3 separate regions of the Homo sapiens genome follow, and all the other regions are linked to region 1. The links are contacts of gene promoters, found by promoter capture Hi-C in human tissues and cell types (Jung and others, 2019). All regions are on one chromosome and are shown on one strand. Each heading gives the region's core, a stretch centred on a gene start or on the middle of the fragment in contact. The rest is flanking DNA. Distances are from core to core; before and after follow the strand shown.

Region 1 (3,574 bases), core at 485-2,984:
GTCGCTGTCCTGGTGGCTGCCAGTCCCCCGGGGCCTAAGGCCCCAACCCCGTCCATGTGCCCAGGATGTTCTCTCCGATGCTTTCTGCATCTTCTCCATGTCCATGGTGTTCTGACGCTTGACAAGGGGAGCCTGGGGGCCACCGATGGTTTCCTGGCCTGGCACCCTCTTGGCTCATGCCACCTTGGGAATGATGGATGCCCCCAGTGGGACAACTTTGTGGATGATCTTATTCCCATGAGCTGGGCGGCTTGAAACAACAGAAATGAGTCCTATCACAGTTCTGGGGGCTGGAAGTCTTGAAGTGAAGGTGCACACTCCCTCGAAGGCTCTGGGCTGGGGGTTCCCACTTTACCTCTTCCAGCTTCTGGGGCCTCTGGGGGTTCCTCGTGGCAGCGTCACCCCAGTCTCTGCCCCATCTTCACAGGCCGTGTCCTCTGTGCCTCCTCCTCTGTCTCTTGTACCCCTGTCATTGGCTTTAGGGCCACCTGGATAATCCAGGATGGTCTCATCTCAAAATCCTTCATGACATCCGCAGAGACCTTTTCCACATAAGGCCCTGCCTGGGGCTTATGTGTGTTTTTAGGAGGGTCTCATTCAAGCCAGTACACAACCTGTAACCAAAAATACCAGCCTGGCCCACATGGGGCAACCCCGTCTCTACTACAAATACAAAAATTGGCCGGGCGCGGTGGCTCATGCCTGTAATCCCAGCATTTCGGGAGGCTACAGCGGGTGGATCACCTGAGGTCGGGAGTTTGAGACCAGCCTGGCCCACATGGTGAAACCCCGTCTCTACTAAAAATACAAAAATTAGCCGGATGTGGGGGCACATACCTGTAATCCCAGCTACTTGGGAGGCTGAGACAGGAGAATCCGTTAAACCCAGGAGGCGGAGCTTGTGGTGAGCGGAGATCGCACCACTGCACTCCAGCCTGGGTGACAGAGCAAGACTCCGTCAAAAAAATTAATTAATTGGCCAGGCGCAGTGGCTCATGCCTGTAATCCGAACACTTAGGGAGGCTGAGGCAGGCAAATCATGAGGTCAGAAGTTTGAGACCAGCCTGACCAACATAGTGAAACCCCATCTCTACTAAAAATACTAAAATTAGCCGGGCATGGTAAAGCACGCCTGTAATCCCAGCTCCTCAGGAGGCAGGAGGCTGAGGAAGGAGAATCGCTTGAGCCGGGGAGGCAGAGGTTGCAGTGAGCTGAGATTGCGCCATTGCACTCTAGCCTAGGCAACAGAACGAGACTCCATCTCAAATAATAATAATAATTAATTAATTAAGGTGGCTCCCAGTCACATTTCCATTGCTTTACTGAGAGAGACGGGGCCTCCCAGGATGCAGCCGTGCACGGCCTGGGTGATGGGTGCCTGTGCAGACCTGGCTCTGTTGACTCCCCAGCCCCCGTCGGGTTCCCTGTCTTGCTTCGACTTCTCGGGAGCACAAGTCCATGTGCTCCTGTTAAAGCCATCGCCTCCTGCCCGCGGGCTTGCACCCAGCTGAATGATTCTTCAAAGAAACTGTTTGCATCTGTTTTAAGCTTGTCTCCTTAGGAACCTGCAAGTCTCAGAGCCCACTGGCTTGAAGGCAGATGCCTTTCATGGAGGCGGCAGGAAGAACCTGACATCCAGCCAGGGCCAAAGAAGGAAAACCACTCAACAGGAGAGCTGGGGGGACGAGACACAAGACAGACCCACGGAGCCACCTTCACCCTCTCCTGCGGCTGGAGGGAGACTGCTGGGGCCTTGCCGTCTCTCCGGATGGGTTGCTCGTGGAGGAAGACCTTGTCTTTCTTCCTTGTTTTTGTGCCTATATATCTACATGGGGCTTCATCGCAGGAAGCCGCCCCAGTGGGGCCCAGGAAACCGTTTTTCGAGAGGCTCCGTAGGCTGGAGGAACAGGCAAGTTATACCCCTGACATGGCGCAGTCGGGTTTTTAAATTGGCAGCAGATGGAAGACGGATGTTACAGAAGCAGATTGGTAAACATCAGGGCTTGGCGGACACGAACACCGCGTGTGACGCTCTTTCCATCCATGAAGATTATTTCACCTGCAGTTGGACACCAGGGAAGAGCTGAGCTGGGCTCCACTCACACAGGACACAAGCCTCATAACATGTGGGGGTCAGGTGGGGCCAGAGGCTAGAAGGGGGTCTGGAAGGGAGTCAGGGGAACTGGGGGCCATGGGGGCCGGGTAGTGTCATGGGGAGTGGAAACTGGGAGGTCACAGGTCCACCTTGTGGCAGTCGGTGTGAACGGCCTCCCGGACTCCCACGCGGGGTCCACGGACAGTTCCGGAGTGCTGTGGGCCTGTCGGGCCTGCGCTGGGTGCTTCCTGTTTGGGCCTCGTAAAGCACTCATGAGGCCACCCTGCCGTCCCCTGCTCACAGGCAGGAGCTGGAATCACGAGGGAAAGTGACTTGCCGGTGGTTATGGGGTGAGCGGTGGGGATCAGAGCCCCAGCTGTGGGCCTGGAGTCCACACCCCACGTGGTGCAGCTGCATGGCCTGGGGTCAGTCCCTGGCACCCACCACATCTCACGGCATCGCAGTGGGGATCAAATCGGTGGGCAGATAGCCAGTGCTGGCCGTGGCCCGGGCACGCGGCCGCTGCTCCCAACTTGAGAGGGCAAAGCCTTTCCCGTCCCGCCCAGCCGGCCCGGCCCGGCCCGCCCCATCATCACCGTGTCCTCCTTACAGTTCCGGAGATTCCAGGAGGTGACCTGGACACACCTGCAGAACATCGCCAGCAACTACAACGTGTCCTACAACGTTGACGTCCGGTTCCGGAGCCTGGCGGAAGAGAGCCAGGCTGTGGCTCAGGCAGTCAACCGGTCACAGGCCTCGGTGCAGGGGGAGCTGGCGCAGCTCAAGGCCTGGGTGAGGAAGCTGCAGCGCCGAGGCCGGAAAGTAGACACGCGGCTGCGGGCCTTGGACCTCACCCTGGGCGAGAGGAGCCAGCAGCGGGCCCGGGAAAGGAAGGCACACAAGGCCCAGAGGGACGCCCTGCAGGACTCACTGGCACGCCTGGAGGGCCTCGTCCACAGCCAGGGCGCCAGGCTGGCTGCTCTGGAGGGGCGGCTGCCCGTGGCCCACCCTGGCACTGCAGCCCTCGGGCCGGCCCTGGTCCCAACCCCAACCCAGCCTGAGGAGCTGGGCCCGACCTCCCTGAAGCTTCAGAGGGACAGGCAGGAGCTCCGAGCTGCCTCTGAGCACAGGGGCCCCCCACAGGACTCCTCGGCCCCTCTCCAAGGGAGGCGGGAGCCTCCAGCCTCAGGCAGCCATCGGGTACTCAGTGGGACTGCCCCAAAAGACCCTCGGCAGCAGGCATGGTCCCCCCAGGTGCCAGGAGAGAGTAAGTACCACAGGCTCCCAGCTCACGGCCAGGCTTCCCTCCAGCTCCTCCTTAGACCAGGCCCCCTGGAAAAGGCTTCTCAAAAGAGGTTCAGTTAGGGGCCGGGAGATGGGGAGAGGGTCTCGGATCATCGGGGGGGGTGGCCCACCGTCATCACAGAGGCTTTCTAAGGGGAGGCAGGAGGAACACAGTCAGAGGAGGGCGTGAGGGCA
Region 2 (3,574 bases), core at 433-2,932, 1.4 Mb before region 1:
TGGGAGGCTGTCCTGTTCAGCGTGGGGTGTTCAGCAGCAACCCCGGTCTCTACCTGCCAGATCCCACTGTCATGCCCTACCACACGTTGTGACCACCAACACTGCAGAACGTTCCCTGGGGTGCAGAATTGCCCAAGAGCCACAGCTCCAAAGCAACTTAGAAATTAGAGCGCACAGAAAGGGAGAGCTTGGCCAATGAGACCCCCCCAGCCCGGTATTCCCCAGTCACCCTCCATCATAATATAAGTTTATTTACTCCTTCCCACAGCCTAATGCATCCTCAAATCTCTCTCCCTCTATGCCTGATATACCCATCTTCCCTCTCCTTCCCACTCCCACCAACTCAGGACATGATCCCTTACCACGACCTCTTTAGCCCAAGCCAAAGCCTCTGAACGATCTTGCCAGCTTTGGCAAGCAGCCACTCCAATTCTCCACATAGGGTGCTGACAGGTCACTCTTCCTAAAGCTTAACTTTCAGCATGTCTCTCCCCAATTAAATCATCTCCATCTCCAGCCTTAGTGCATCATCAGCTGGGCGTCATAAACACTCCGCAATCTAGCCCCAACCTCAGCCTTGTTCCTTCCACACGTCCCGCCAGTAGCACTTGGGAAAGGAACAAGAGAAACATGATATAATCACACGAGAAAATCTAGATCAAGCCCTGGAAATCATATTGGCCCTTGGAAAGCAGAAATATGCAAATAAAAATAAGCCATTTCGTTGGAATTGGAGTTTGCACATGATTATCTGACTATGGGAGTTCAGCTTCCAGTACAAGGAATAAAGGAACAACAGGCAGGGTTTAGAGCGAGGGTTTCAACTACGTCAGACCCGTTATGTGCAGGCTCCATGGGTTAGCAGCAGCCTTTTGGAACGGGGTGGAAGAGAATGGAACGGAATTTAATCCGAACAGATCCAGCTGCGTCATGTGAGCTTAAACAAGCGTCTCCCTTTAAACTTGTGCTTCAGTCATCCAGACCCACAGGCACAGAGTACACGCGTAAAAGGCATTTCTCAGTGTCGGCTGTGGGTCAACAAAGTTCGAAAGCCGTCACCGGAGATCTATAGGGTCAGAAGCGGGAGCGGGGTGCGTCCCGACCCGCAAAAGTGCAAGGTCACTGGGACCGCCCGAGCTGCAACCGTGGGACGGGGCTGATGCTGCGGGTCCAGGAAGGCAGCGCTGGGCGGGGCAGACACCGCCAGGAAACGGCGGACGAGTGCGGGGATCCTTGATGTGGGGGTGTCGGGCTTAGGCCAGGGGACGGGGGGGTGGGGATGGAGGGGCGAGGAGCAAGGAGGGAATCGCGGGAGACCCCACAGGAGGCGGCCTGAGCGCCGGGACGCAGACCCCTCCCCAGCACCCGCAACCCTCGGGACCCCCGGGAGAGCCGGGCTGCGGGCGCGTCCACGCCGGGGACGCGGGACATTCCCCGCCCGCAGGGGCCTGTCCTCACCGACGGCAGCGGGGCCCTCCCTCTCCCGCGACAGCGCCGCGGCGGATCCTTCAGCCTCTGCCGCTGCAGCAGCGAGCGTCGACCCCGCGACCCAGGCCGCCGCCGCCACCCCGACCCGGGCACCAGCTCCCAGCCCCGACCTGCCCCTCGGGAGCGAGCCCCGTGACCGCGCGCGCGACCCCGCCGGGGAGCCGGCCTTGCGGAACGCTCAGGCGCGCTACTTCAGAGCATGCGCAGCAAGACCGCGCGGCCCGTTCCTTAGGTAAACCGCTGCTCCGGGTCTTCCCTGCGCGGCGCCGAGCCGCAGGCCTGGCCTGTCAGCGCATGGGGGCGGGGACGTAACTCACGGAAAAGGCGGGGCCATCCCGAGATTGGACGGCGGCGTCCAGGGGCGGAGCTAGGATGGGGGAGCTGAACAGGACGCTCTTGGCGTAAAGGGGCTGGGGTAGGGGGCGCTTAATTGAGACCCCAGGACGGTCCCCAGTATCTGAGGCTGCCCGCAGGAAACGGAGCGTTTGCTGAGATGCACTCTTGGGCCTGTCAGTTTCCTGACCCCGTGGGAAGGCGATTCTCATGCATCTCATTGACGCCCCCAGTGACCCTACCCCAGAGCGGAACCAGTGTGAGATTCAAATAAACAGCGATAGCAACGGATTATAACCTTGACTACGATATGAGTCCAAACTGAAGGAAATAAGTCAACGGGGGAGAAGGGACAGTTGTTTCTTACATCAGAAAGCCAACAACGACAAAAAAATACCTGGGCCGGGCGCGGTGGCTCACGCCTGTAATCCCAGCACTTTGGGAGGCCGAGGCGGGTGGATCACCTGAGGTCAGGAGTTCGAGAACAGCGTGGCCAACATGGTGAAACCCCGTTTCTACTAAAAATACGAACATTAGTCGGGCGTGGTACTGGGCGCCTGTAATCCCAGCTACTCGGGAGGCTGAGGCAGGAGAATAACTTGAACCCGGGAGGCGGAGGTTGCAGTGAGCCGAGACGGCGCCACTGCACTCCAGCCTGGGCGACAGAGTGAGACTGTGTCTAAAAAAAAAAAAGCAGAAATATTACATAGTATTACAAAGTCTGCATGACGTGTGATGTAACACATTGAATGTAGAAGCAGGTATGAGAGCCAGTAGTCTTCTTTTAAGCCCGCAACAAAGATATTTGCAAAAATGTATAACTATGTCACTCGTCTCACTAAATTTCTTTGGGAAAATATTGTACTTTTTCATAAAACTATGTTAACACAATCAGCTTACTATTTTTTGGTAAGATCTTTATTGAAATATAATTCACATACCATGCATTTCTCCCATTTAAAGTGTACAATTAAATGATATGTAGTATAGTCAGAGAGTTGTGCAAACAGCACCATAGTCAGTTTTAAAACCTTTCATCACTCCAAGAAGAAACCTTTAGCCACCACCCTCCAATTTGCTAATCACCCCAGCCCTAAGTAATATGATCTATTTTCTGTCTTTATAGATTTGCGTATTCTGCATATTTCATATAAATGAAATCATGCAACAAATATGTGGTCTCTTGTGACTGACTTCTTTCGCCTAGCCTTAGCATAGCACTTTCAAAGTTCATCCATGTTGGCCGGGTACAGTGACTCTTGCTTGTAATCCCAGCACTTTGGGAGGCTGAGACAGGAGCATCGTTTGAGCCCAGGAGTTTGAGATCAGCCTAGGCAACATAGTGAGACTCTTTCTCTACAGAAAAAAAGAAAAGAGGAACAAGAGAAAATTAGCTGGATGTGGTGATGCGCTGTAGTCCCAGCTACTCAGGAGGCTGAGGTGGAAGGATCACTTGAGCTTGGGAGCTGGAGGCTGCAGTGAGCTGCGCTCATGCCACTGCACTCCAGGCTGGGCGACAGAGCAAGACCCTGTTCAAAAATAAAATAGTAGCAGAACTTAATTACTTTTTTTTTTTCTTGAGATGGAGTCTTGCTCTGTCGCCCAGGCTGGAGTGCAGTGGCACGACCTCAGCTCACTGCAACCTCCATCTCCCGGGTTCAAGTGATTCTCCTGCCTCAGCCTCCTGAGCAGCTGGGATTGGGATTATTACAGACAGTTGCCACCACGCCCGGCTTTTTTTTTTTTTTTTTCT
Region 3 (3,574 bases), core at 501-3,000, 1.0 Mb before region 1:
CCAAAAATACAAAAAAATTAGTCAGGTGTGGTGGCGTGCGCCTGTAATCCCAGCTACTAAGGGGGCTGAGGCGGAGAATCGCTTGAACCCGGGAGGCGGAAGCTGCAGTGAGCAGAGATCGCACCACTGCACTCCAGCCTGCGCAACACAGCCAGGCTCCGTCACACACACACAAACCGAACTGCAAAGTAATAGCAAAAGTGTAAACCCATTTAGAAAAAACGTGTGTGACATAAATGTGATAAAAGGAACAGGGCCAGTCTGGGAGGGAGTACCCGGACGCTCCGGAGCTGTCCCAGACTCCAGGGGCGGAAAAGCCGGGCTGAAGAGGTGCCCTTCCTCCACGCTTCTGGTGCCAATCTCCCCTGCTGCGCCCACCCTGGGTCCCTAGCCTGGGCTCCAAACCAACTCCGAGCTAGGGAAGCTCCGAGCCAGGGTGCTTCTAGAGTGTCCGGCCCACCCCTCCGCTTCATTTCCCAAGACAGTGAGGGCGGGGCTAGAGGCCAGGTGCGGAGGTGCGGGACAGGAGCCAAGCTGGGTCGTAGTGGGATCCACCTGTGCGTGATACGTAACAGAAGGGAGAGGCGAGGCGCGGGGAGGTCCGCAGGGATGTGGGAGACGCGACGGGGAGGACTGGGACGAAACAAACTAGGTCCGCAAGGGTATAAGGGGAGCAGCTCGGAGGGTTGGGGCGAGGCGGGGTCTACAGGGGTGTGGGGGGCTTGGCAGGGAGCGCTGGGGCGACGCGGAGCTCCGCAGCGTTGGCGGGGAGCGTTGTGGGGAGACGGGGTCTGCAGGAATGTGAGGGCGCGGTGGGGAGCGTAGCGGGGTATGCAAGGTTGTGAGGGTTGTGGATGGGAGGGCTGGGGCGAGGCGGGGTCCGCAGAGATGTGGGGGGCGCAGAGATGGGGGGGGTCCGCGGGCCCGCCGGGGACCGCGCAGCCTCGGGCTCTGTGCCCGGGGCCGCGCGGGTTAACTAGAGAAGGTGACGCGCGCCCCTGTTGCTCAGCCGCGGCGCGTGCCTTCCCTGCGGCGATCCTAATTGGCCCGACAGAAGCCCGCCCCCAGAAGCCCCTCCCACAGTAGGCAAGGCCCCGCGTGCCGCAACGCTCCCAGAGTTGCGCGTCAGCCTGGACTCAGCGCCTGCGCTACGAGGCTGGGCGGGGCGCGGCCGGATCGGTCGAGAGCGTCCTGGCTGATGACGGTCTCCCGTGCCCACGCCCCAAACGCAGTCTCTGGCCTGGATGTGCTCGGAGCCCACGAGGTGCAGAGGCTCGGACGGCGAAAGGGACCTGGCTGAGATCTGGGTCTTAAACCGCGGGCTCGGCCCAGCATCCCGGCAGCGTGCGCCCACAAGTGACACCCGGCCGGGCGCGGTCTGCGGGATCGCAGGCGCCGGGTCTCATCTCCAGTTCACACACGGGACGAAACGGGCCACCCCTACCAGCTCTGAGAGCATGCACCTCCAACTCCATCCCTCCCCACATGCCCGACCCCCCAACCCGTAACTCAGGCAGACACCTGGGCGTCCCCCTTCAGCGAATGCCCACACCGCGGGCAGGCCTGCCCCTCACCCCGCAGTCAGGGCGCCCTGCATCCTTCTTTGTAAAACCCATAGCTGTAGAGGGAGCGGAATGGTGGGGCAGGGCTGGGAGCCCAGCGGGAGTGAGTGGTGGGGAATGATGGTGGCCAAGGTCACACAAAGCAGTGAATTCACTTCATGTCACAGAACTGCTCAGGTTACGATAGTTACTTTTGTTATGTATTTTACCACAATTTTTAAAAAGCAAACCAAAACCAACCAAGAGTGCTTCCCCCACACCTCAAAATCATCCTGCAGCAGCTCCCTGGCCCAGCTCTCTCTCACCCTGACCCTGGGCCCCTCTCCCACCACCCAGGGCTAGCCCTGTGGACCAACCATCTCTGCCAGCCCCTCCCCGACCCTCCAGCCAGGGAGGTGGGGCGCTGGCCGGTGAATGGGGCAGGCCAGGCCCAAAGGCTGGCCCAGGGCTCACCAGCTCTGGACTGGGCGTCCCGTCTGAGGTGGGGATGACCAACATGCCAGCTCTGGGTTTTAGCTGAGGATGGGCACATCAAGCACTGACAGCCAGCAAGCTGGGCACAGGCGATGCTCAACCTCTAACACATCGGCTGAGAACCTCACCTGCCTCTCCCTGCCTGGGAGCCCTGGCAAGACAGCTCCTCTCCCAGGCCCAGCACAGGCAGGCGCTGGACAGCCACTTCCTAAGGGGTGCGCGGCCGTCAAGGCAGAGGTGGGTATCCCTGCACCTCACACCTCTCAGGAGGTCAGGATCCACATCCGTCGCCTGCTTTCCTGGGCTGCCCCTGGGGCTTGTGGGCTGAGATCAACCCCTTGTGCCCTGCCCCAGGCCCTCCCTCAGGCGAGGCCCTGCCCAGGCAGGTGGTTCTTCCCTGGCTGTTCCCTTCCAACAGGTGGGGCCCAGACCATCCTATCTCTTTGGACCTGGAGACATTTCCTTAACTGGGCTTTGCAGCAGAGGGAAGAGAACAGTGGCAGAGCCAGGCGCGTACCTCCTGTGCCCAGGACAGCACCTGTAAGCAAGGGGGAAGGGAGCCACCCACCCCAGAACTCAAATGGAGAGAAAGTCAAGACAATCACCCCTGACGTGGGGCTGCACCAATCCCTGACGTCTGACCCCACTGTGGCTGTCCTCAGAGCCAAGAGGGCTCCAGAAGCCCACCCGCCTCGAAGCTGTTCAGGGAGCCTCACGGCCCGTGTTTGCCACATGGGTGTGTGCCAGGGCCAAGGGGACACAGAAGATGGCAGGATGACACTAATGGGGTGAGCAGGGCACACTGGTGCCTCCCATACTGCCCTCCAGCACCAGGCAGGGTCACCACAGCCGGCAAGCACTGGGCCTGGGGATGTGTGAAGAGATAGGGTTATTGAGAAGAGAAAACAGAACGCTGGTCATCCGTGGCACTCAGGGCTAGGCAGTCCAGGGAGCAGAAAACAGGGGTCCCGGGCCCAGTCTCCCTCCTGGAGGTCAGAGCGGAGCCCCTGGCACTGTGCCCTGGCCCAGAACCAGGCTGTGGGCTCCACGCTGCACACCCCAACTCAGGAGCAGAAAGCAAACCCCTGACTGTCCACACTCCCTGTGACTGGTCCCCTTCCTGCCGGCTCTTCACCCCCAGCCCATGGTGGCTTCACCCCATGGCACCAGCCACTGACTGCCTGCCCCTCCCTCCCATAGTGACACTTTCCTGGGGTCTGCAGGTCTCCGGTCCACTTCATGCAGACAGGCCCTGTCCCCCACTGGGGCCCAAGGCCCAGGCTAAACTACAGCCCAGCCATCCCACCCCAGGCCGTGAATGCCTTCTCCAGGAGGGCAACCAAGGATGGTGCCACATGTGAGCACAAGCAAAACCCGGAGCCAAGGCGAGTCCTGCTGGGTGCACGTTTATCCCAGCCACCGCCTCCAGGGCGGCCGCACAGGCCCTGGGCATCAATCCAGCAGGGCTCCCGACTCACTCCCTGGAGACCAGCTCCCCAACCACCCGGCCCTGATGGCATCCCGCTGCGGCCAGGTGT

What was found. The method cuts DNA at HindIII sites, captures the fragments that hold promoters and counts their contacts. A contact is called where the count stands out against the background at its distance.
Region 2: the fragment with the promoter of FLYWCH1 here is called in contact with the fragment with the promoter of PTX4 in region 1 in 1 of the 25 tissues and cell types used here (spleen).
Region 3: the fragment with the promoter of CEMP1 here is called in contact with the fragment with the promoter of PTX4 in region 1 in 1 of the 25 tissues and cell types used here (dorsolateral prefrontal cortex).

What each region holds. Positions count from the first base shown.
Region 1 is chr16:1,487,104-1,490,677 of GRCh38, reverse strand. It overlaps PTX4 (pentraxin 4), which reads left to right and starts at 1,734. Exons shown (of 3, transcript NM_001328608.2): 1 at 1,734-1,909; 2 at 2,708-3,362. The coding sequence starts at 1,769. The HindIII fragment of the contact is 5,905 bases long and covers 1-2,365 here.
Region 2 is chr16:2,910,039-2,913,612 of GRCh38, reverse strand. It overlaps FLYWCH1 (FLYWCH-type zinc finger 1), which reads right to left and starts at 1,682. Exons shown (of 10, transcript NM_001308068.2): 1 at 1,459-1,682. RefSeq lists silencers at 1,049-1,238, 1,212-1,311, 1,342-1,491, 1,512-1,821, 1,872-1,931. The HindIII fragment of the contact is 21,473 bases long and covers 31-3,574 here.
Region 3 is chr16:2,529,584-2,533,157 of GRCh38, reverse strand. CEMP1 (cementum protein 1) reads left to right here and starts at 1,750. Exons shown (of 1, transcript NM_001048212.3): 1 at 1,750-3,123. The coding sequence starts at 2,085. The coding sequence ends at 2,828. It overlaps AMDHD2 (amidohydrolase domain containing 2), which reads right to left. Exons shown (of 11, transcript NM_001330449.2): 11 at 1,741-3,574. MIR3178 (microRNA 3178) reads left to right here and starts at 1,153; the gene lies at 1,153-1,236. RefSeq lists enhancers at 468-517, 1-519, 1,298-1,347. The HindIII fragment of the contact is 25,225 bases long and covers 1-3,574 here.